7 separate regions of the Homo sapiens genome follow, and regions 1, 2, 4, 5, 6 and 7 are each linked to region 3. The links are contacts of gene promoters, found by promoter capture Hi-C in blood cells and fetal thymus (Javierre and others, 2016). All regions are on one chromosome and are shown on one strand. Each heading gives the region's core, a stretch centred on a gene start or on the middle of the fragment in contact. The rest is flanking DNA. Distances are from core to core; before and after follow the strand shown.

The links. The method cuts DNA at HindIII sites, captures the fragments that hold promoters and counts their contacts. A CHiCAGO score of 5 or more calls a contact.
Region 1: a fragment that was not itself captured here is called in contact with the fragment with the promoter of THAP5 in region 3 in 5 of 17 cell types (total CD8 T cells, non-activated CD4 T cells, activated CD4 T cells and 2 more); the score reaches 10.6 in total CD8 T cells.
Region 2: a contact is called between a fragment that was not itself captured here and the fragment with the promoter of THAP5 in region 3, in 9 of 17 cell types (total CD4 T cells, fetal thymus, naive CD8 T cells and 6 more). The highest score is 25.0, in total CD4 T cells.
Region 4: a contact is called between a fragment that was not itself captured here and the fragment with the promoter of THAP5 in region 3, in 1 of 17 cell types (total CD4 T cells). The highest score is 13.2, in total CD4 T cells.
Region 5: a contact is called between a fragment that was not itself captured here and the fragment with the promoter of THAP5 in region 3, in 2 of 17 cell types (M2 macrophages and total CD4 T cells). The highest score is 5.8, in M2 macrophages.
Region 6: a contact is called between a fragment that was not itself captured here and the fragment with the promoter of THAP5 in region 3, in 1 of 17 cell types (M0 macrophages). The highest score is 5.7, in M0 macrophages.
Region 7: a contact is called between a fragment that was not itself captured here and the fragment with the promoter of THAP5 in region 3, in 8 of 17 cell types (non-activated CD4 T cells, activated CD4 T cells, total CD8 T cells and 5 more). The highest score is 22.2, in non-activated CD4 T cells.

What each region holds. Positions count from the first base shown.
Region 1 is chr7:112,221,970-112,225,355 of GRCh38, reverse strand. All of the region lies in intron 1 of ZNF277 (zinc finger protein 277), which reads right to left. Among named protein-coding and RNA genes, the nearest start is that of ZNF277, 17 kb to the right of the region's middle. The HindIII fragment of the contact is 2,072 bases long and covers 949-3,020 here.
Region 2 is chr7:112,399,464-112,402,803 of GRCh38, reverse strand. No RefSeq gene overlaps it. Among named protein-coding and RNA genes, the nearest start is that of IFRD1, 49 kb to the left of the region's middle. The HindIII fragment of the contact is 2,650 bases long and covers 4-2,653 here.
Region 3 is chr7:108,567,636-108,571,058 of GRCh38, reverse strand. It overlaps THAP5 (THAP domain containing 5), which reads left to right and starts at 1,353. Exons shown (of 3, transcript NM_001130475.3): 1 at 1,353-1,569. The coding sequence starts at 1,490. It overlaps DNAJB9 (DnaJ heat shock protein family (Hsp40) member B9), which reads right to left and starts at 1,185. Exons shown (of 3, transcript NM_012328.3): 1 at 956-1,185. RefSeq lists enhancers at 1,030-1,757, 1,291-1,770. The HindIII fragment of the contact is 6,219 bases long and covers 1-2,296 here.
Region 4 is chr7:112,295,142-112,298,203 of GRCh38, reverse strand. It overlaps ZNF277 (zinc finger protein 277), which reads right to left. Exons shown (of 12, transcript NM_021994.3): 3 at 2,247-2,335; 4 at 1,893-1,975. Among named protein-coding and RNA genes, the nearest start is that of ZNF277-AS1, 54 kb to the left of the region's middle. The HindIII fragment of the contact is 3,721 bases long and covers 1-3,062 here.
Region 5 is chr7:112,270,935-112,274,424 of GRCh38, reverse strand. The region is part of intron 1 of ZNF277 (zinc finger protein 277); the gene reads right to left. Among named protein-coding and RNA genes, the nearest start is that of ZNF277, 66 kb to the right of the region's middle. The HindIII fragment of the contact is 7,429 bases long and covers 1-3,490 here.
Region 6 is chr7:111,781,025-111,784,556 of GRCh38, reverse strand. DOCK4 (dedicator of cytokinesis 4) reads left to right here. Exons shown (of 53, transcript NM_001363540.2): 33 at 434-460; 34 at 605-700; 35 at 1,633-1,693. Among named protein-coding and RNA genes, the nearest start is that of DOCK4-AS1, 26 kb to the left of the region's middle. The HindIII fragment of the contact is 3,714 bases long and covers 1-3,272 here.
Region 7 is chr7:112,198,055-112,201,211 of GRCh38, reverse strand. The region is part of intron 1 of DOCK4 (dedicator of cytokinesis 4); the gene reads left to right. Among named protein-coding and RNA genes, the nearest start is that of DOCK4, 6.8 kb to the left of the region's middle. The HindIII fragment of the contact is 3,251 bases long and covers 1-2,996 here.

The DNA.
Region 1 (3,386 bases), core at 735-3,234, 3.7 Mb before region 3:
TATTCAGGATTAATGAGCTCAAGGTTAGAAGTTCAGTGGCCATATGGGCAACTGTAATGACTTGCCTGGCACTAAGCCCCTGCCAATACCACTAATCAGCATGGCAGGAGTCCCTAAGCCCACCATTGGTTTGGCTCTGTTCCAGCCTCAAGCCAATGGCTCTGCATCAACCCAGTTTTCTTGGCCTCATCTCTACCTGGTTCTAGGATGCTAGTCACTGGACACATGACTAACTTCTTGAAACCAAACCTCAACTTTAATTCTTTTTCCAGTAATTGAGCTCTTAATCTGTTGCCCTGATTCTATCACTTCTTGACTTGATGCCTCATCCAGAATCCATCTTCCTCTATATTTGTTGCTTTTACAATTTTCTTTTTTAGAGACAGGTTCTAGCCATGTTGCCCAAGATGGTCTTGAACTTCTGACCTCAAGCATTCCTCCTGCCTTGGCCTCCCAAAATACTGGGATTGCAGGTGTGAGCCACCACCACACCCAGCCCTAAATTTTTTTCAGGACTTTTAATAACTTGACTCCTGTCCCTAAAGTCCAGTTTACTTGTAGCTGTGTCCTTGCTACTGAACAAAGACTCATTGACCATATTTTAGTCATGTTCCTCTGAACCCTTTTCCTGACTAGGCCCCGTCCTTGCCAGACCTGCATAGTTCAGTTTTATCAAGAATCCTGCTAAATCAGTTTAGAAAGAATCCCCCGTCCTCAATAACTCACCACCCTCAATAGCTGAAAAAAATTCTTGCCATCCCCCAGGTGATATCTGATTACCCTGGCCTGCCTTCAGCAGGAATCCCCCCTTATCCCTGATGCTTCCTCTTAGTGATTTTCCATCTCCCAAACCCTCCAACCTATTTCTTGACTATAAATTCCCACTTTTCCATGTTGTATTAGGAATTGAGCCCAGTTCTATACTGAGGTGTTGTTTCCTCACAAGCTTATCCAATCCCTGGCCCGTGGGCCACACACAGCCCAGGGCGGCCTTGAATGTGGTCCAACACAAATTTGTAAACTTTCTTAAAACATTATGAAATTTGTTTACAATTTTTTAAAGTTCATTATCTATTGTAAGTGTTAGTGTATTTTATGTGTGGTCCAAGACAATTCTTCTTCCAATGTGGCCCAGGGAAGCCAAAAGATAGGACACCCCTGCTCTACTGTAGGAGTTCCTGAATAAAATATTTTTTCTGCCAGTTTACTGTCCAGCTCTAGTTTTTCTTTAATACTACCCGCTACCAGATCTCTCTACTTCTCTGTATTCTAACTGATGCCTGTCTAATCTCTATGGCATACTCTGCCTGCAGTCATCTGGGCATTCTAAATGACAGTGCCCGAGCAGAACCCAACTTATTAAAGTAGACAGAATCTTCATATACAACCTGCTCTGTCCCAGCACATTTTTCTAATCCCAGAAATTTCCTTACAGGAGTCAGCTATGCTCTGACTTTATTAACAAGGGCAGAGCTCTTTGCTTTTGAATGTGACAAGGAAGACTGCAACCCCAATTGCTTCTGAAAGCCTTCCTGTGACTATGGTTGTCTGTAATACCTAGTTTAAAAAATTCTAACCAGAGAATTCTGGGTCGGCAAGACAGTGGAATAGGAGGTCCTCTGCTTATATCCCTGCTTCTCTCAAAAAATTTTGCAGCCATCCCTGGACAAAAGCGCCTTTGTGGGAGCCTTGGGATTTAGGCAGGAGTTTCTAAAACCCCAGTGGAGTCTAAAAACCTAGAAGGGTCATTTTGAGAGGGCAAACCTACGACCAGGTGGCAGACTCATGAACTGTGATCTTGGCTCCGGACTTGGAAATGACCCTGTCTCCCTGTGGACTTGGCTACAGCCCCATTTGGATTTGGGCCTCTTCCAAAACTATCCACCATGGAGACTGGGAAAAGTCACACATACTAGTGCCTAGGGAGACAGACCTGTTGACCTCAGTCTCTGCTGTGGACCCTAAAAGGATCCTTTAACTTGGCTCCAGGCCTTCTCAGCTACAGTCCTAGATCAGTGTTCCTGGAACAAAGACACAGAGGGAGACACACCATTCTGAGTCCCCTGGGCCAGCTTGCAACCCTCAGTCCAACAGCAGATCCTGAAATGGCCCCGAATCTCATCTTCGAGCCTCTATCAGCTGTGGAATGACAGTAGTGCTGCCTAGCCAGGGATCAGCTGGGAGACATGCTACGTTAGTCAGGGTTCTCTAGAGGGACAGAACTAATGAAACATATACATATAAAGGGGAGTTTATTAAGTATTAACTCACACAATCACAAGGTCCCACAATAGGCCATCAGCAGGCTGAAGAGCAAGGAGAACCAGTCCGAGTTCCAAAACTGAAGAACTTGGAGTACGATGTTCGAGGGCAGGAAGCATCCAGCATGGTAGAAAGATGCAGGCTGGGAGGCTACGCCAGTCTCTCTTTTCACATTTTTCTGCCTGTTTATATTCTAGCTGTGCTGGCAGCTGATCAGATGGTACCCACCCAGATTAAGGGTGGGTCTGCCTTTCCCAGCCCACTGACTCAAATGTTAATCTCCTTTAGCAACACCCTCACAGACACGCTCAGGATCAATACTTTGTATCCTTCAATCCAATCAAGTTGACACTCAGTATTAACCATCACACATGCCTATTCATATCCCAAGGGCAGGCTTGCAGTACTCAGTCCCACAGTAACAACTAGAAAAATAATAGAAAGGATCAACACAACTAAAAGTTGATTTCTGGAAAAGATACACAAAATTGACAAACCCTTAGCTAAGCTAACTAAGAAAAAAAAGACAGAAGCCTCAAATACATTAAATCATAAATGAAGGAGATATCACAGCTGATACCACAGAAATACAAAGGATCATGAGGGTACTATGAGCAATTATATGGCAATAAATTGGATAACCTAGAAGAAATGGATAAATTCTATACACATAGAACCTAGCAAGACTCAATTATGAAGAAAGGGAAAATGTGAACAGCTCAATATCAGGTAAGGAGATTAATTCAGTAACAAAAGCTTTCCCATGAAAGAAAAGCCCAAGACCTAACGATGTCACCGCTGAATTCTACCAAACATTTAAAGATGAACTAACACCAATGCTTCTCAAACTCTTCCAAAACACTGAAGAGGAGGAACCACTTCCAAACTCATTTTACAAGGTCTGAATCACCCTGATACCAAAGCCAGAGAAGGACACTTCAAGAGAACAAAAGTACAGGGCAATATCCCTGATAGACAAAATACTCAACAAAATAGTTGCAAACTAAATTCAACAGCACACTGAAAGAATCATTCACCAAAATCAAGTGGAATTCATCTCAGGGATATAAAGATGGCTCAAAATACATGACTCTATAAATGTGATAAACCATGTTAATAGGATG
Region 2 (3,340 bases), core at 79-2,578, 3.8 Mb before region 3:
GCTTTACAGGCATAAAGAAAATAATATTCATTGGTTTTAGCAAAGCATATCTTCTATGAATTGATATAAACTCCTAGAGATTAAAGTCATACACACATCTCTTACATTTTAGAAGGTATGTATAACAGCCCAATTTTGCCAAATAAACAATAAACTCAATTCTCACCTGTAAAATTGACTTTCTGTTCATTAGTTTAAAGAATTCGGAGAAGCAGAAATTAGTTTACTATTTAATTCACTGAAAGAGAGTCTACTAGATGAAATACATTGAACCTATGAAAATAGTATGTAGATTTTATAGGATCAGTACCTGCAAGTAGGTCATAAAGCCTGACCTGATACTAAGCATTTTCTAGGATATTATCACCAAATTTCTAAACTCACAGGGTCTCACTTTGTTAACAATCTGATATTAGCTGCTATGTAAAAACAAAATAATTTATTATAACCAAGACCATCTGCCAAATGATCATTTCCAAAATATAAAACTCCAATACCATTGTTGTAAGAAGTGTTTATGATAACTCCTAATGATCCTTGCTGCCTGATATTCATGCCCTTCTGTAATACCTTCTTTGAGTGTGGGCTGGACTTATTGGCTCACTTCTAATGAATAGAATATGGCAGAGGCTGGCTGCAGTGGCTCAAGCCTGTAATCCCAGCACTTTGGGAGGCCGAAGCAGGTGGCATGGTGAAACCCCTTCTCTACTAAAAATACAAAAATTAGCCGGGCATGGTGGCATGTGCCTGTTATCATGGCTACTCAGAGGCTGAAGTAGGAGAATCGCTTGAAACCCAGAGGCAGAGGCTGTAGTGAGCCAAGATTGTGCCACTGCACTCCAGCCTGGGTGACAGAGCGAGACTCAGTCTCAAAAAAAAAAAAGAATATGGCAAAAATTATAACATGTCACTTTTGAGATTAAGTCATAAAAAAGACTGGCTTCTATTTGACTTCTCTCCTCTCCTCCTTCTCCTCTCTCTTTCTCTCTCTGTCTCTTTTTCTCTCTTATCACTGGGTGTATGGAAAGTCAGCTGCCATGTCATGGGTCAGCCCTATGGAAAAACCCAACTGGCAAGAAATTGAGGGCTGCAAACAACCACATGAGTGATCTTCGGAGCAGACCCCAATGTCACTACCAGTTGAGCTGTTAGATAAGACCACAGCCCCAGTTGATAGCTTGATTGTAACCTTGAGAGATACTTTGAGCCAGAGGCACTCAACTGAGCTGTGCTTGGATTCCTGATTCATAGGAATTATTTTAAGCCTCTAAGGGTTAGGGTAATTTATTACACAGCAATACATAACTAATATAGCTATTATTCAGTAGTTTAAATACTTATTCATGAAAAAATATTGATGACTCTTTCCACATAATATAGGGGAAAATAATTCTACTTGCTACTTTGTGCACTATGTATTTTTACGGATCAGCCAACAGACCAACATGTGGCAAGCTATTACATGGAGATTGAAAATCTGGCACCATGAATTATTCAACCACTGTCTCCAATGAACGGTCTGACACAGAGGTTAGATTTACCAGGAACCAAAGTAACACCTGCAGTATCCAACTCTTGTTACCATTTTGTAATCTTGGAGAATTATTAGGTTCTTTGAAAAGTGTTCCAGAGTAGCATCTTTAATTGTGGATACCAGGTTCAAGTTAAACAACTTTCTGCCCACACAAATGTTAGAATTACATGATGACTTACTAATTCTCCCACTGAAAGAGCTGTACACAACCCTTTGACTATCTGGCTAAGATAGATCTTTGGGGACTAATAACCTAGGGCTCCCTGGGACCTAATAATTATATCAGACTAATATGTATATATAACTCTTTATATATATATATATATATATAACTCTTTATATATATATATAACTCTTTATATATACATATAAAACTCTAAATAACATCTATGCTGAAGCCATGAGACAAAGAAGATGATGATGAAAATAACATTGGTAGACAGTTTAAAGTTTATAATATTATACTATTTGTCATTCATAGTTTCATTTCTTTCCAAAAATCTTGTGTGCTTGTTATTATAAGCCCCTTTCACCATGCTACACTCTGCCTTGCACATAGGACAGAGTTTGATAACTCTAGAACAATTTGCCTCAGAGTAGTTGTTAACCTCCTAAACTGTGAAATGCCTACATAAAAAGTAAATCATTCCATCATAATGAGAAAAATCCTACTATCCTACTGCCTTCCCAACCTACCCTAGGCTGGAATTTGAGATTGTTTCTATTCCACACTGCTTAAGAAAATTTTTTTTAGTTGCTTTAATCTGGCTTAATGAGCTACATTCTCTGAGCCAATGGCTACCTTTCCTACCAACACCATAAACAAAACTGATCATATTTGTTAAGGGAAAAGGCAGTCCAATGACATGGTAATGAGTCCTGACTGTGGAATGTTCATCTCCTGCAGAAATTTATGGCCCCATTCACCACAGCATCATACGCCTCCTAGAAAAAGAAGCAGTACGTAGTTTATTCCTGTCTGGAAATTGATGTGTAGCCAGGGGTAGCATGTGCACATTCATATCTGCCTAAAGCAGGATGTAAAATGTGCCTATGAATCAAACATACTCTAGTATTTCTAAATCACAGAGAGTCAGGACTAGCTGCAAGAGGCAAGCTTTTGTAGCTAGGCTGCACTTTGCTGAAATACTAGCCTTGATCTGTTGCTGCTCCATTCCTTGGACTAGATGTTCTTTATGGGTCCTTTTGGCTCTAATGTTGTAAAATTTGTGGATTAGCTAAGTTGGCTTAAAGAATCCTCCTGAACTGTGTTAGCCATGTATGGGATCTTTGATATCATCTGATATTTTTCTTAGGTGCTTTGGGTTAGGAGAGATAGTGCACATGGAAGAATATTACAGATTGACTATGACCAGCAAGGAGTCATCAAAATTAGTTGGGAGAAAAAAAAGAAAATGTTTGTATGAGTAAGAAAACAGATTACAAAATAATGTGTTTGGGGAAAGACCACTAGCAGTGTCCCAACTTCCATTCTCTCCTATTTCCTTTATATTAGAACTCATGCTTTTAAGCTGGGCACACAGCCATCTGAAACAAAGCTATATCTCAGAAGCTCACCAGGAGATATGGTTATATGTCTAAGTTCTGACCAGTGGAATGTAAGCTAAAGTATTATGTGCAACATCTGGGGAGTGTCCTGCTGGCCAGAATTCAGACAAGATGCCTGGAGCACAAGTAGCCATCCTGAACCATGAGGTAGAACTCATATGTTGAGGATGGCATATGATAGAGGAGCCTCGATCTCTGCCACCATGGAGTGTCATGGCAGCCAGAACTGCCTCCAAA
Region 3 (3,423 bases), core at 104-2,603:
AGAATTTAAGATTTCTGCTAAAGCTGCCAGAAAAATGAACTTTGATAGTTTGTACTGTGGTTAAGGCAGATTCTTACTTTCACAAACTCAGTAGTTAAAATATTTCTTTTACCTTTAAACCATTAAAGAAATGTTAACTTAGAATTCTTGACAATATGTATTCAATGACTTGAGATTCAAAACGAAGGGATGGATCCTGTTTTTTGAATACGGGACCACCAGAGTCCTTAGTAACCTATAATGCCATAATAAGGCTGACGAAAAACACTACGGTTTGTGGAAATTGCCTGGCTTCCTCTCCAGCGGCCTTTCCTGAGAGTAATTAGCAGGCAGGTAGATTACTTATTTCCAGAGAGTTACTCGTAGTCACGGGTACCAAGAATCAAGAACCACTTCTCGGTTTAAGGAACACAACAGTGTGTCCCATGGACGCTGCGTCAACTGCAGGTTGCTCCCTAGTCAAAGGGCGGATCTAAAACTGACAGGGAGGCGCCTCACTGGTTCAGCAGACGTTATTCCACGGTCTCAAGGTGGACATCTAATGATTTTTTTTTAGCAGACTAGTTTTGTATTGTACAGACTTCTCATCCCCAAGACGGCCCCGCCAGCCAGCAGCCCGTGCCTTATTCCCCAGCCTCGGTGGGCGGCTGGGCTAGACCCTCCAACCTTCACCTAAAGGCGACTGGCACTTTCCCTGCCCGCCCAGGCCCCGCCGCAGAAGCTGCCCGAGACCCGGGCTCTAATCCGGCGCCCGTGAAAGCCGGCGCCACAACCCAAAACACGATTCTGTGATGCGGCTGTCTCCGTTCTTCCATTCTCTCGGCCAAAAACATGCAGCCCATTGTCCCTGCGGCGACCGTGGCGGACACCGAGGCCAAGTCAGCTCACAAAGACAGGCCTGGGCTACGGGGACCCTCCGAACTCCCCTCCCCACGACCCCGGCCTCGTCCCTCACCTGCACCCTCCGACTACTGCTGCTCCTCCACAGAGCTGAGGCGCTGGCGACCCTGACGATCGGCTCGGGTCGGCAGCTTGGGCCCGGCCCCTCACCGCGGCCTCCCGGAGCTGGCACGCACCCTAATCTCGGTCGTACACCGACCTAGCGCTCCTCCTTCCCCGCCGGCGCCCAGTCCCCTCTCAGCCAGCTCCTCACAGGCAGGAGGTAGCCGCTGGCGCCACCACCTCAGAAGACCTACACGAAACGCTTCCCCATTGGCTTCTGCCTCCCCACGTGATCCCGGCGCCCTACGCGCACGTGGAAAACTGTTGTTGCTGCTAGGGCTGTGCGCCACTTCCGGCTTCAACCCCCGAAAAGGCGGTGCTTAAACCGGAGGAGGCGGAAGTGAGTCGACAGACGAGGCGGCTTTCCCGGCAGAATGCTAGCGCAGGCGCAGGGGCTCGAGAGGCCTGGACCTGTGGCGCATCCTCAGTGAGGAGGGCCGCCCTGCATCCGTCGCCGGCCCCGGTCTCCAGGGGCCTCACCCGAGTCATGCCCCGCTATTGCGCAGCGATTTGTTGTAAGAACCGCCGGGGACGAAACAATAAAGACCGGAAGCTGAGTTTTTATCCGTAAGTTGTTTCTGGAGCAGAAGCGTCAGCCTCGCCGTGAGGCCTTGGACCTGTGGCCTTTGGGCTTGGGTGTCTCCTGTCCGCTCTGCCAGTGAGTCCTCAGCTCTCCGTACGTGGCCCGTCGCCCGCGGCAAGACGGAGGGAAGGCGCTAGTTCAGTTTAGCTAGCAATGCCCTTCTTGCGCGAGGACTGCTGGCTGGTGGCGAGGCCCAGGAGCCTGTTTGGGTGTTAACAGTTAAAACAGTAAAGTTTGCGCGGGCTTCTGTGGTTTTCAGTCTTTTCCCCACTTCACGTGATCTCATTTCATTGAACAACATTAACCACCATTTAAGATACGTGAAACCTGCGAAGTGGAAAGGTGCACGCAAAGTTAATTTACACCCCCCGCGAGGTAGGTCGCATAGGTATAATTTCATCCCACTTTTCTCCTGAGGAAACTGAGGCCCGGAATGATTAGGTAACCGACCTTGAAAGTTTAGTGTCAGAGCCAGAATTATAAACTAGTCTTCTGCTTAGGGCTGTAGATACTCTGCGGAGAACAAGGTTTTATTCTGTTACTCTGAATTACTAGAGCCACGATATATTTCCATCAAACTACTGAAGCACTGATTTTTATTCAGAAGTACAGACAAGCAGTGTCGTATAATAATTAGGGGTCCAGGCTTCAATGCTAGATCCTGGTTCCACTATTCTGTAGCTTAATGACCTCTTGGAAAGTATTTAAGCTTTGGTGTCTCACATATCTCATCTGTAACATGGAGATGTTAATAGTACTCACATGATTAATAACACATGAAAAGCAACATATTTAAAATACTGCATTTCCATTTTTTCTTGTATTTAAAAACAATTCATTTAGATCTAACCTGGTTCAGATTTTCAGCAGTTGTTTTGTGCTCATTTTACTTTAGACCTGAAGGACTTATTCATTAATGATTCGGCTGCTTTCCAGTATTTTAATTAATGGAAAAAAAATTGATAACCCCACCAGGCGCGGTGGCTCACGCCTGTAATCCCAGCACTTTGGGAGGCTGAGGCGGGCAGATCACCTGAGGTCGGCAGTCTGAGACCAGCCTGACCAACATGGAGAAACCCCGTCTGTACTAAAAATACAAAATTAGCTGCGCGTGGCGGCGCATGCCTGTGATCTCAGCTGCTCGGGAGGCTGAGGCAGGTGAATCGCTTGAACCTGGGAGGTGGAGGTTGAGGTGAGCCGAGATCACACCATTGCACCACAGCCTGAGCAACAAGAGCGAAACTCCGTCTCAAAAGAAAAAAAAACTGATAACCCCAAGTAATTCACAATCCATGGCAATATTTCCAGGATTGTCTCCCTTGAAGCCCAGCCTCAAGATGCAAAGAGATGTTTGGGGGAGGAAAACAATCTAATCCACTTTCAGTTTATAGGGAAATACTACTGTACTAATGGCTCTATCTCTGAGAATGTTTGTAGCAAAAGATCATGTTGAACTTGATTTAACCCCGTATTTCCCAGATTTATTTGGCCTTTGATATTGGAGATGGGGTATAACCCCACACTGAAATTTTTAACTAAACTTTGTGGACCTTACAGTAACTTTTTAGGAAGGAAAAAATAATGCAAGTGAATTGTAAAGATTTTTTTCACTGAAAATGTGAATTTAGTAAAAGTTGTATTATTTCTAGGGTTTTTAAAAAATTTTCTTGTGTAATCCACAAAATAAAAATTGAATTAGTTTTATTCTCCAGTAGCGTCAAACTTGAATTGAATTTGCTCATGTTAACACTACAGCAAACTGTAGTTTAAATGTATATGAATTTGGGAATTCAGTTAATATAGTGTCCAGTTTGTACTGTGATTATCTTATGCCTTTT
Region 4 (3,062 bases), core at 14-2,513, 3.7 Mb before region 3:
ATCTCTATTACCAAGATAAGAATACATATTTATCTTTCTTCTCTAAGTAGACCGTACACTCTTGTATGATATGGATTATGCCTTGTACTCTTGTACTTCTTTGTATAGGCATCTACTTAAGCAGAAATTCAACGAGCATGTATGGATTGATTGCCTTTTCATTCTTCTTTTGTTTCTGTAAGCTGGCATAATGCTCACTTCCATTAAATGTATCACTATCAAACTGTAAAGTAAAAAAGGTAACTTAAATGCAGTATATGTAGGTATTTTTAGAGACCTGAGTCCATCTGCAGACACATCGTACAGATTCTGCATGCTAAAGAACAAGAATGGCTGAAGTAGTAGGGTTTGAGTTCTTATAAATAAATCCTTAGGACTACTAGGATCATGACATCTTTTGATCATTCTTAAGGCCACTGTTAGCAACAGTGAGAAAATTCATGTAAATTGGAAATTATGAATAAGTGCACGCAAATAACATCCATAAGACATGATAGTAAATTTAGCCTTGTTTTGCAGATTTCATAAGACACTGCTATAAGGAGAGAAGAGAAACTCAGGAAGTCCTATTTCTTTACTGCAGTTGTTGTACAGGAAAACTTTTCTTAGATATAAATCAACATCCAATGGTATCACCTTCCCCTACTGGAAGAAATAATCATTTGGGATGTCTACAAAATAAAATATGCTTCCAGGGACTTTCTTAAATTATATGACTATGGTAAATAGCATTTATTTTTCTCCTTGATCTCTTGAGGATATAGCACAAATATTTAAATCATTTCTCTCTCTTATAACATATTTAGCTAAGTCCAAAGATAAAAGAAAGACTTACAAGAAATCACTAAAGGAACAGCAAGTCAACTTCAAGTAATAGTCGAGATTAAATCACAAATAATGGGAACCCATGTACTTTTAAACAAAAGTAACAATTTAAAAAATTACTTTCTGATTAACTTACGAAAATAAAAATTTTCAGCCGGGTGCAGTGGCTCCCGCCTGTAATCTCAGCACTTTGGGAGACTGAGGTGGGCAGATCATGAGGTCAGGAGATCGAGACCATCCTTGCTAATACGGTGAAACCCCATCTCTACTAAAAATACAAAAAATTAGCCAGGTGTGGTGGCAGGTGCCTGTAGTCCCAGCTACTCGGGAGGCTGAGGCAGGAGAATGGTGTGAGCCCAGGAGGTGGAGCTTGCAGTGAGCTGAGATCACACCACTGCACTCCAGCCTGGGCAACAGAGCGAGACTCCATCTCAAAAAAAAAAAAAAAAAAAAAAAAAAAAAAAAATAAATAAATAAATAAATAAATAAAATAAAAATAAGAAAATAAAATAAAATAAAAATTTTCATGCTTGTATGTGCTGTTATCTTTTTTAAAGGCTAAAGATGCTGAGGTTTTCAAATTAGCTTGCTTATGGTTAAGCCTGAAAACCAGAAAGGCTACTATGTAGATTAAACCATATGCTTAATTCATAAAGGGAAATAAAAAAAATGCTAGTGCATAGCACATTCCAGTAAAGGGGAGAAAAAAAGGTTAATCAATTCAACTCAATTTTAGCTGAGGGCATTTTTCCATGACTACTGAACCCTAGCATGTGTCAGGCAGCTAAAATTACACTAAAATGTGTAAGTTCTGTTGTTATTTTAGAGATAATCCAGGAAGCAAAACAAAGCCAAAAATTCTCTCTGCATTTTTAACATAAAACGCTTTAATTTTCAGTCAAGTGTATACTTTTTTTTTGTTTTAAGACCTTTTTGTATTGTCTCCTCTTTTACATATGTTTGAAAGTTTCCATAACAAAAAGTAAAAAAAAAAAAAACCAATATGATTTTATATGTATTTATATGTATTTTCAAGACACTATTCACCCTTTAAAAACAATTCTTACCAGTCTCTGTTTCTGAAGCTCTTCTCTAAGAATTCTATCTTCTGGTAAAACGTCACATAACAAAAAATAATTCTCTTGTTCTTCTGTTGAGAGATTAGGAAAACAAATAAGAAAACAGATATTAACCATTTTTTCCCCAGAAGGACTTATTTCTTAAAAAATACAGATGTGTGTGTCTATTAGGATCTCTTTGGCATAGAACTGTTTTAGCTTTATTCAAGTTAGGCAAAATAAACACATCAATTTAATTTTATCTATCATGAAAGTAAAAGTAATTCTAATATAAGACAGTAAGATTATTCCTTTGAATTTTTATACTGTAGGGAAAAGATGGTAGCCAAGATGTACACTTACCAAATGGAGCAGTGGAATTAATTCTTATTACACTACAAAAATCTGTGATGGGCTGTTCAGTGAACCTTTTCCTCCAATATAAAATGTACCTTAGAACAACATAAAATAAGGAACGATGAGAAGATTCAATATACTATTTGCTTTAGAATGACAGGAATCTATAAGCACATTCACTCATCCCAAAGCAACAAATCAAATGTTAACTTAAAACTGCTTTTCTAGCAGTTTTTTGTGAATACAAAGGCAGTGGAGCATTATAGAAGTATCAAATAAAGATTTAATAAAAAGGAATTACCATGTAAGGGCATGAAAATGACTAAACTCTACTATCCCCAAATTCAATAAACAGACATATAGGAAAGTTAAAATGAATTATTTTTATGTGATAATGAATTTTTCTGAAATAACACCTAAGTTTATGTGTCTTTAAAATACAATAACGATTAAATAGGCTATGACACACTCTGCAGTAAAGAGAAAACTAAGTGGTTATCTTATGTATCAAAAGAACAGAGGTCAGAAGAATAATGCAATGAGAAATCAGTCTAAATTCAATATCAATATAACAAGACAGAAAAATTCCATATGTCTACACTGAGTCTGAAATGAGGCAAATTTAGACTTTGGAAAAATAGCCTAACTTACAATTCTTGTATCTAATGAGCAGAGTTAGAAGCAACACACCAGCTAAATTAAAAACCAAAGCCTAACACCCAGACCTACATATGTGATGAAAGAGGGAGTAAGATGACAGGATTTAACAAGTGGTTTATCTTTCCATTTATCTAACAAGATTTATATTGGCAACTGCAATCT
Region 5 (3,490 bases), core at 467-2,966, 3.7 Mb before region 3:
AGCATGTTGAAAGGCTGATGCAGGAGGATCACTTGAGCCCAGGAGCTCAAAACTGGCTTGGGTAACATGGCAAGACTCAGTCTTTACAAAAAATAAAAAATCAGCTGGGCATGGTGGCACACACTTGTGGTCCCAGCTACTTGGGAGGCTGAGGTGAGAGGATTGCTTGGGCCCGGGAGGTTGAGGCTTCAGTGAGCTGTGATCGTGTCACCTCACGCCAGCCTGGGTGACAGAGCAAAACCCTATCTCAAAAAACAAAGGCAAAATGAAAATTAATAAAAAATAAACTTTTGAAAGTACCATATAACCACTCATTTAAATTCTTATTTTTGAACATGTGAATTTCTCAAACTTTTCTAACAAGATATATATATATATATATCTCATACTATATATTAATATATAATTGCTATAAAGCAAGACTCGATTTGAAAATGAAAACTAATAAATTGTCTTTTAGTTCTAGTATATGAGATAGAAACTTTCTTAAATTAGGCAAGTCTTAGCTGATACTCATTTGATCATCACAGTTTTATGAACTTATTTCCCTAGAAAGTAATTCTCCCTTCTAGTTCACTTTCAGGCAAAAGGCTCTGCTAGATACTGAGGAGCAAGCAATTGAAGAAAAAAAATAGAGCTACCTTAACCTCAAATAACCACATTTTTTTTTAGACGGAGTCTCGCTCTGTTGCCGAGGTTGGAGTGCAGAAGAATCTACATCTTTTCCACCAGAGAGGGTGGTTATGTTCACAGACACACCTAACACAACTTTAGAATGTCAGGGAGCAAGATGGTTGAATAGAAGCCTTGACCGGTAATCTTCCTGGCAGGAACACCAAATTGAAAAACTATCCACACACAAAAGAATGCACCTTCATAAGAACCAAAAATCAGGTGAGCAGTCACAGTACCTGGTTTTAACTTCATATCCCTGAAAGAGGCACTGAAGAAGGTAGGAAAGACAGTCTTGAATTGCTCATGTCACCCTTCCCCCATCCCCCAGCAGTGGCCATGTGGCCTGGAGAGAGAATCTGTATGTTTGGTGGAGGGAGAGTGCAGTGATTGTGCGACTTTGCATTGGAACTCAGTGTTGCCCTGTCACAGCAGAAAGCAACACCAGGCAGAACTCGGCAGGTGCACATGGAGAGAGCATTTAGACCATCCCTAGTCAGAGGGGAATCACCCATGCCAGCGGTCACAACCTGAGTTCCAGCAAACCACGGGCTAAAGTGCACTTGGGTCGCAAATAAATTTGAAAGGCACTCAGCCACAAGGACTGCAATTACTGGGCAAGTCTCTGTGCTGTGCTAGGCTCAGAGCCAGCGGATGTGGGGAGCATGTGACCCAGTGAGACACCAGCCACGGTGTCTAAGGAAGTGCTTGTGCCACCCCTGGCAAACAGGCATATGAAAAGTTGCTCAACATCACTGATAATCAGAGAAATGCAAATCAAAACTACAATGAATATCATCTCACCCCAGTTAAAATGGCTTTTACCCAAAAGACAGAAAATAACAAATCCTGGTGAAAATGTGTAGAAAAGGGAATCCTCATATACTGTTGGTGGGAACACAAATTAGTATAGTCACTATGGAGAACAGTATGATGGTTTCTCAAAATACTAAAAATAAGGCCGGGTACAGTGGCTCACGCCTGTTATCCCAGCACTTTGGAAGTCCGAGGTGGGCGGATCACTTGAGGTCAGGAGTTTGAGACCAGCCTGGCCAACATGGTGAAACCCCGTCACTACTAAAAATACAAAAATTAGCCAGGCATGATGGTGTGTGCCTATAATCCCAGCTACTCAGGAGGCTGAGGGAGGAGAATCGTTTGAATCTGGGAGGCAGAGGCTGAAGTGAGCCAAGATTGTGCCATTGCACTCCAGCCTGGGCGACAGAGGAAGACTCTGTCTCGAAAAAATAAACAAAGAAACAAACAAACAAAAACAACTAAAAATAGAACTACTATGTGATCCAGCAATCCCACTGCTAAGTATATACCCCAAATAAAGGAAATCAGTATATTGAAGAGATATCTGCTGTTTGTTGCAGCACTGTTCAAAATAGTTAAAATTTGGAAGCAACGTAAGTGTCTGTCAATGAAGGAATAAAGAAAATGTGGTATACACAGTAGAGTACTATTCTGCCATAAAAAAGAATGAGATCTTGTCATCTGCAACAATGTGGATGGAACTGGAGGTTATTATGTTAAGTGAAATCAGCCGGGAACAAAATGACAAACTTTGCATGTTCTCCCTTATTTGTGGGAGCTAAAAATTAAAACAATTGAGCTCATGGAGATAGAAAATAGGATAGTTACTAGAGGCTGGCTAGTAGGGGGTAGGGGGAAGGGAGTATGGTCAATGGGTATAATTATAGTTAGATTAAATAAGAGCTAGTATTTCACAGTACAACAAAGTGATGATACTGTGTAACAATGTACTGTACATTTAAAAATCACTAAAAGTAAAATTAGAATGTTTGTAAGACAAATAAAGGATAAATTCTTGAGGTAATGGATATTCCATTTATCCTGATGTGATTATTATGCACTGTATGTGTGTATCCAAATATCTCATTTATCCCATAAATACCTACACCTAGTATGTACCCATAAAAACTTTCTTAAAATTAAAAAAAAAAGAATGTCAGAAGCATCAGAGGAGAAAAAAAGAACCAAGTATAATTTTAAGATAGCCCATATCTAGCAAGTAAGATACTAAATCACTAGATTCATGTCCTCCATTTCCAGTTACATGCCTGCCTGCTAAGGCAGGTGGTTTGGCCTTACTTTGAAGTATTTAATAAATCCTTTTTCTTCAAGTTACTTGGACCCATCAGGATTTGGGCTGCTTTTAAAAAATGTAGTTATAAGCAGTCTTTTAAAGCTCCTGCAAAACACCTGAGATTCAGTCATGTTCAGGACACTTAAAAAATATAATTCTCCAATTTATTTGTCTACTGACAATTACTCTATGTTCTCAGTGACATTAAGTATCATAAATCCCATCTCCATGATGTAACAGAATCCTCTACAAATATGTGACCACATCAGAAAGATCACTTGACTTCAAAGAGGAAGGATGAGGGAATAAAATGATGCTGGACAATAAAACAAGACACAACAGATTTTATTCCTAGCATTTTGGATACGGTATTAAATTTCCTGTTTTACATAACAAAAATAAATCCAAAAGGTGATAGAAATCTCGTATCTCTGAAAGAATAGGTTGTCTAGTTTACATAAATGGTACATGTTGCAAATTACTCATAACAATTAACAATGAATTCTGCCAGCAGTTAATCTGATTAGCACTAGCTTCAATGGAATGTCTAAATGGAACTTTACTGAAAATGACATCCTAATGAATACCATTATTTTTACTTTCAGGCAACAATTCTCAATCCTAACAGTATGTATGAATCAACTTGGGAGCTTTGAAAATATGCTGATTTTTTTACACAGAGATTCTAATGTATGGCTGGGATAT
Region 6 (3,532 bases), core at 166-2,665, 3.2 Mb before region 3:
GACAAAATGAATGAAACTGTTGAGTGAGTGCACAGATAGTACAATATGTATTGAGTGGGCAAATGTTAAGTGAAAGGAAAAAACGCAAAACGTCATACCAGCTGTACAAGGATTTTCCTGTAGCAGTTGCATTGCAGTAAAATTGCTTGGATGAAGATGCATTCCACTGAGAGGTAGGAAAATATTTTTATGTGAATAAAGCAAGATCTTGCTTAAAAGTAAACTTGGAGGCACTCCTGTTTTTGCTTTTTGCAGTGTTATTTGATGTGGTAAGACGCAAGCCTCTGTTAGTGTAAGGGAGAAGCTAGGAAAAAATGTCTTTGAGCTGTGAGATGCTTGTATATTTTGAAAATATGATTATATGCATGTGTTTGTATTTTATGACTTGGATAATCTGAAAATCAATTTGCTTTGTCAATGCTTCCTGGATTAGAATTCCACTATTTGGTCCCTATCCTAGGTAAGACATTGTTTGCAAATTGTGCTACTTGTGAGATGTTGCAGTGGTTGCTAAGGCATTTAAGGTACTGATGAAAGTAAAGTGGTTGTCATGGTGACTGATAAAAATAAATGTTGAAAATGCCCCGGGTTCTTTCTTTTCCAGTCTACTAAAGAAAATTGAGCGGGAAACATGGCGGGAAAGTGGCGTTTCATTAATTGCTACTGTAACTCGTCTAATGGAGAGGTTGTTAGATTACAGGTAAGCCAAGTCGCATGTTTTTCTGAACTCCAGTTCATGCTGAACTCCAGTTAGAAAATCAAATAGAATACAATCAACGTTCCACTCTTGTGAATCACTCAATTGATTATCAGACCATGGAACCTGGTATACTAAGATAATGAACTTCTAACCAGCTGGTTCAGAGCTGTTAATTTGAGCTTTTGTTTGTTTTTTGTTGCTTTGTTTTGTTTTTTGATAGTTCTTTCAAAGTCTTGGTGAATTGAGAGGATTCTCGGAGTCCCTGAGAGTTCTCAAAAAAAAAAAAAATCTTTATTTTGGTATTTAGACTTAGCCCCTAGAACCAGTAGAACCAATCCATTTTAGGGTGAAAACAATGTAATGGAGAATTGTACAATCATGCTATTCTCTTAAATATTCTCTTAAAAAGGGGACGTGGGTGAGATGAAACTCACAGTGTCACCTTCCATAGACCTATGTTTTTTATTTTTATATTATCTAAACTGTTAAAGTAGTTAATCCCACTTAAATACATGGTAGTTTGGTTTTATTTTAGGAATGAAACCCTCATTCTCATTGTTAATGGCCAGGCTTACCAGCCACTTCTCACCCTACTGTAGGAAGTGTACAATAACACATTTTCACTCCTCTAACTTCCTGAGCCCATGTCCATTGAGAGGGAGCATAATCTTGACATGGCAATGAAATTCTTAACAGAAGCTGATGCTCAGGAGTCTCTGACTCCCCAGATTCCCTAGAGATTAGATTATCAGTCCTTGGAACATGTATCTAAATGAACGAACGCTTGCAATGCAAATTGCCTCTGGTCCCTAAAAGTGGCTTCTTTTTTTTTTTTTTTCTTTCTTTCTTTCTTTTTTTCCCCCAAAAAGAACAAACTGTGTTTGCCCCTAGGAAGGAAGTTCTGAGTTCTGACTATTGCTTTTTGTTTTTAGGGACTGCATGAAAATGGGAGAGGTAGATGGCAAAAAGATTGGCTGCACAGTTAGCCTTCTGGTTAGTAAACTATTCCCCTTTTTCTCCTTTTCTCCTAATACTTGTATTTTTTTCCCAGAAATACTATGTTTTGTTTGTGTTTAATCTGCAATGTGATGTTTCTTAGAAGAGTTATTTTTAAATTTACAAGTGTTTTTAAGAGAAGCATAGTGAGCTGCAGGTTAAATTAAAGTCCAGGAAATCCTCAGTCCCAGACATTACAAGGTGCATCCCCTGCATTCCCCACAGCCCTAATAGGAGACCCGTGTGGGATCCCAGAGTGATGCCATTGGGTTCCCCGGTTGCACTACTTCACCCTCCTAGAGTCTTGTTGCTGTCCTAGCAAAAAGCACTGTATCCCCTGTTAGAGGTCTTTCTACTTTGTGTAGCAATTTCTTTCTGTTCTTTTCCTTTCTCACAGAGTGATATGCAGTCCACATTTTGATAAATATTAGTGATCTCTTCTTTTGTGAACAAATGACAGTTTTCTATTTAACACCCTAATTTTTACTCTAGCTTTTTTGCAAATTGAATTCATAATAGCACTTTTGTTAAGGTTTGCTTTGTAACTAGGATGACCAAGCAGGACATTTTTGAGAGTAAAATTAAACATTCTGTAAGGATAACAGGCTAATCCAAAGCTGTCCTGGGCAAGCCAACATTTATATAAAATGTCACATAACTAACTATTAAATAGAATGGTATTCTTACCACAGAGCAAAGGAGTGGCCCTACATTTAGATGTTTATTTGTCATATTTTAATGTAAGTCAAATTAATGTTTTGGATAAGTTCCTTCAATCAGATCTGAAGTACAGGAAAATATAAAATACAAGAAAAGTCTAGTTCTATATTTGTGAATCTCATGGTTTCTTTTTCTTATATTTTGTAGAATAAATGAATCCTCGCCATCTATTACATTCTAAGTTCTTGCACAGTCATTCTTATCCTTACTCTGATCATTTGAGTTCCTCACATGCCATATAGTTCTCTATTTGCTTGCACCTTGAAATTCTTTTGCCCCTACTTTGATTTTGTCTTTTCTTAGCTCATCAGTTTCTTTTTGTTTTGTTTTGTTTTGTATTACTTTGTTTACTCCTGTCACAGTTCGTCTTCAAAGCTCAGGGCTTCTGCTTTCTTGTGACTGTCTTTTCATCTATTTTCCTCATGTCTTGCTGTACTGCTTCTCATCTCTGAGCCTATGATGGTATCCGTCTTTATCACACCCACTGCCTCCTCCACATTTTTAATCTAATTGTTACATCTCCACCTCCAATATCAGTCCCTAAAAATAGTGAGACCTAAGCATCCTCTATCAGGCCACATCTTGTTCACTTTCTTCCATAATGTTTTCATTAGACCCAACGGTAACCTGCAGGCCATTAGCCCACGCTCACTGGGTCAGACCATTGACCTCTGCTCTCAGTACTCATTTCTAACTTGAACATAGTCATTCCCTCTCTTAAATTTCCTAGTTGATTCTCCAGTTTCTCACCTGCTTTTGCCAGCCTCTCATCACAGTGAAGACCCTCAGCCTGAGTTTCTCCCACATTCGTGCTTGTATGTCAGTGTTGGGAGAAAAGCTAAGTGCTTGATAAGCTTTAGGTCTTCTCTGTCTTCTTAACTCTGGTTCTACCTCAACTCCAGGCACAAAGTCCCATAAATAACCTCAAAGCCTTTACCTTTCCCCAAAGTAATCCTCTCCATTCTTCCATCTTCTTTCTCAAGTACCTTCCATTTGGAGATGAGCAAATAAATATAGACCTTATGTTCATTTCCACAATTGGTATAAAAGAAGAGATCACTTCCTTGGATGAAAGAATTAATACTCTGCCTTTAATGTATTTACTCTAGTCTCCCA
Region 7 (3,157 bases), core at 122-2,621, 3.6 Mb before region 3:
TTCATACAGGATAGTTAGGTGTCTTTCTCCTTAGAAAGATGCTTTAATCATAGCGTATGTGTGTGATAGAGCGTAATAAGGATGTGTTTCCTTTACTCTTAGTTTTTTGTAGTTTCTTAGCTAACAGTTTCTTAAAGTGTTTTCTATTAGTGGTCCTATGATGTATCTACATAGCATGTAAAGCTAAATAATAATGTTCTGCTTGGAATTGTTTGTGACATTTAGAGCCTGACACAGGATTCTAAACTTTAAGTGGGAATAGAAGAGAAATGATTTATACCTCCCAGTAAAATACCACCGAAGGGCCATACAGACAGTGGGATAGCAGCTTATGTTCTTGATCTGGCCTCCTATGGGAATGGTCTATAAAAATGTTCCCCTCTTTTGGTCATTCCCCTAAGTGACAGTTCTTCACAAGGCCCCTGAAGCCACATAGAGATGCTGCTCTTCCTCTATGATCTTGTTTTTTTTTGTTTTTTTTTTTTTATTTTAGAGGCTGTTATGGTAGCTAGTACGAGGGAGATTATACAAATTTCAAGAAATTTAGGATTTCCTATCTCTAGCTCTATTCTTTTCCAAAAGGAGACAACATTTTCTGAGTTATGTTTGATACAATATGTCTATGTTTCTATCACAGTGACTTCATGCTGTGAATATATACATCAGAGGAACATTAAACTCTAATGAAACCCTTCTAAAAGGCTGTAACCGTAACACAGTAATACAATGTTTTACTTAAAAAGTGAAATTATTTTATCTGAGTCTACCCTTTGAAGTTGAATGGTAATTTCTATTTAAGAGATGAGAAAACAGTTTCATAGAGTTTAAGTGACTTACTCTAGATTAGTAGCTTTTAATCTTGTTTGACTATTACCCATAAGAAATATAGTTAATTTCCTGACCTAGTATATATATAAATATCCCCCAGTACCACCCCACACACATATAATTAAAACAGCACTTGCTTATACTCTATGTAATGTTCTATTCTTTTTTGTTAAAAAAAATACTTGTCACTAAATTGACTTGTTAATGGGTCCTGACCCACAGTTTGAAAAACACTGCTTTAAATGCTACATTTGTGATACCAGAAGGACTGCAACTCACATCTTACTGGGTTTCTGTGAAGTTCCTTTCATGACATTGGCAAGGAGTTGATGGTGGTGGTGGTTATTGTCTTTGATAGTCAGATATGTGGGTTTATTTTAACAAAGAATTTAATTATCCTTTTTTCCTTCAGTCTAAGTCAAAGTCTGTCTTCTGTAGTATTTCTTATTAAAGATGGAACAAATATTTAAAGCCATCACATGCATTGCGTAAGTTTTCTCTTTTAGTACTTGTATGTCTTCCTACCAGGACCTTTTTGACAAGGATTACATAATGACCAATATTAGACTCTTCTGTATCATGTCCTTTGACAACACTCTCTGGTCACTATAACAGAAGAGTAAAGATAATGGTTTACTGAGGTACTTTGCCAGTTGTAGGTTTACCACTCACTATTCTTTTGTACCTTTTTTTATGTTGCTGATCATTATTAGAAAGACAAGGCAACTTGTATAACTTGTTTTATTAAAAAAGTGAACTATATGCTTATTTGGCTAGAGTATATAAGACAAAAAAATAAGGAATTAAAGTTCCCCAAGCCTAGCTTCATTTAAGCAACTTAAACTTACTTCAGGAACAACTCTTGGACTCTCTGGCATTTAAAAAAAATTGTGCCAAGATGACATTGGGTAACTACTAAGTAAATAAAAATCATCAAAAAAGTGGAATGCCTTTGGTAACGTAACTGCAGTAAAACTGATATGCAGTACCCTGAGGAATGTATGGTAATCATGATCCTTTTGGAAACTTTTATATAACTTTTATTGGAAACTGCAATATAAAATAGCATTTGTGGAGCACTTGCTACATGTCAAGCACAGTTCTAAGAGCTTGTCTTATATTGTCATTTAATCTTCATGATACCTCATGAAGGAGGATTCAGTTATCACTCATATTTCACAGGAAATTGAGTCATACAGGGATTAAGTAACTTATTTAAGGTCATACTGTAAATGGTGGAGCTAGGATTGGAACCTAAATTGTCTTGCATAGAAACTGTTCTCTTAGCCATTACGCCATGTTACCTAGTATGACAGTGGTTAGCAGAAGTTTGAATCAGTAATCCCACCCCTTAAAGTTTATGTGACAAAATAAATCAATAGCAACAAAACACTTTATGCACAGAGTTGTCCCTTGCCGTGTTGTCTGTGAAACAACTTACATGACCATGTAGTCGTTAAATCAGTTTTGGTTATGAGCACGTTGGAGCATCAGACAATCATGAAATGAAATATTTTCATAAACAACACTATTTCAAAAATATATTCCAGGTATCTAGTGTTAAATGACAAAAGAAGAGTAAATATAGACTATGATTAGAGCTACATAAAATGTGTAGCCTATAGAGAAGAGGCAGTCGATGCACAGATGAGAACAATTTTTTTGTTAGAATATATAGATTATCAGTAAGTTCTTTTTTAAAAAATCTGTTTGGAAATATGAGCAGTATTGAATTTTAAATTACACATTGTTATTTATGAAGGAAGAGGTGGCATAAAAATGAGTAAAGAGAGGCACTGCAGTAACTGAGGTGAGAGATAAGTCCATGAATCAGGTTAGCAGTCATTGTCATGGTGAAGTGTGGATAGATCTGAGAGATATTTAGGAAATGAAAGCAACAGGTTTGGTCATCAGATATGAGGAGTTAAAGTAAGGAAGGAGTTTAGGATGTTGTCTTAGCTCAGGATACTATAACAAATATAGACTGGATAGTTTAAACAAAAGAAATTTGTTTCTCACAGTTCCGCAGGCTAGGAAGTCCAAGATCAAGGTGTTGGCTGAGTCAGTTCCTGGTGAGGGCCTTCTTCCTGGTTTGCAGGTGGACATCTTCTTGCTGTATCTTCACGTGGGTAGGGGGAAGGGGTCATGGGGAGGAAAGGAAGCAAGCTTTCTCTCATCTCTTCTTATAAGGTCACGAATCCCATCATGAAGGCTCCCCCTCATGGCCTAATTACCTCCCCAAGTCCCCCATCTCCAAATACCATCACATTGAGGATTACAGTTTCAATATGTGAATTTTGGGGGCATATAAACGTGATTTATAGCAGAT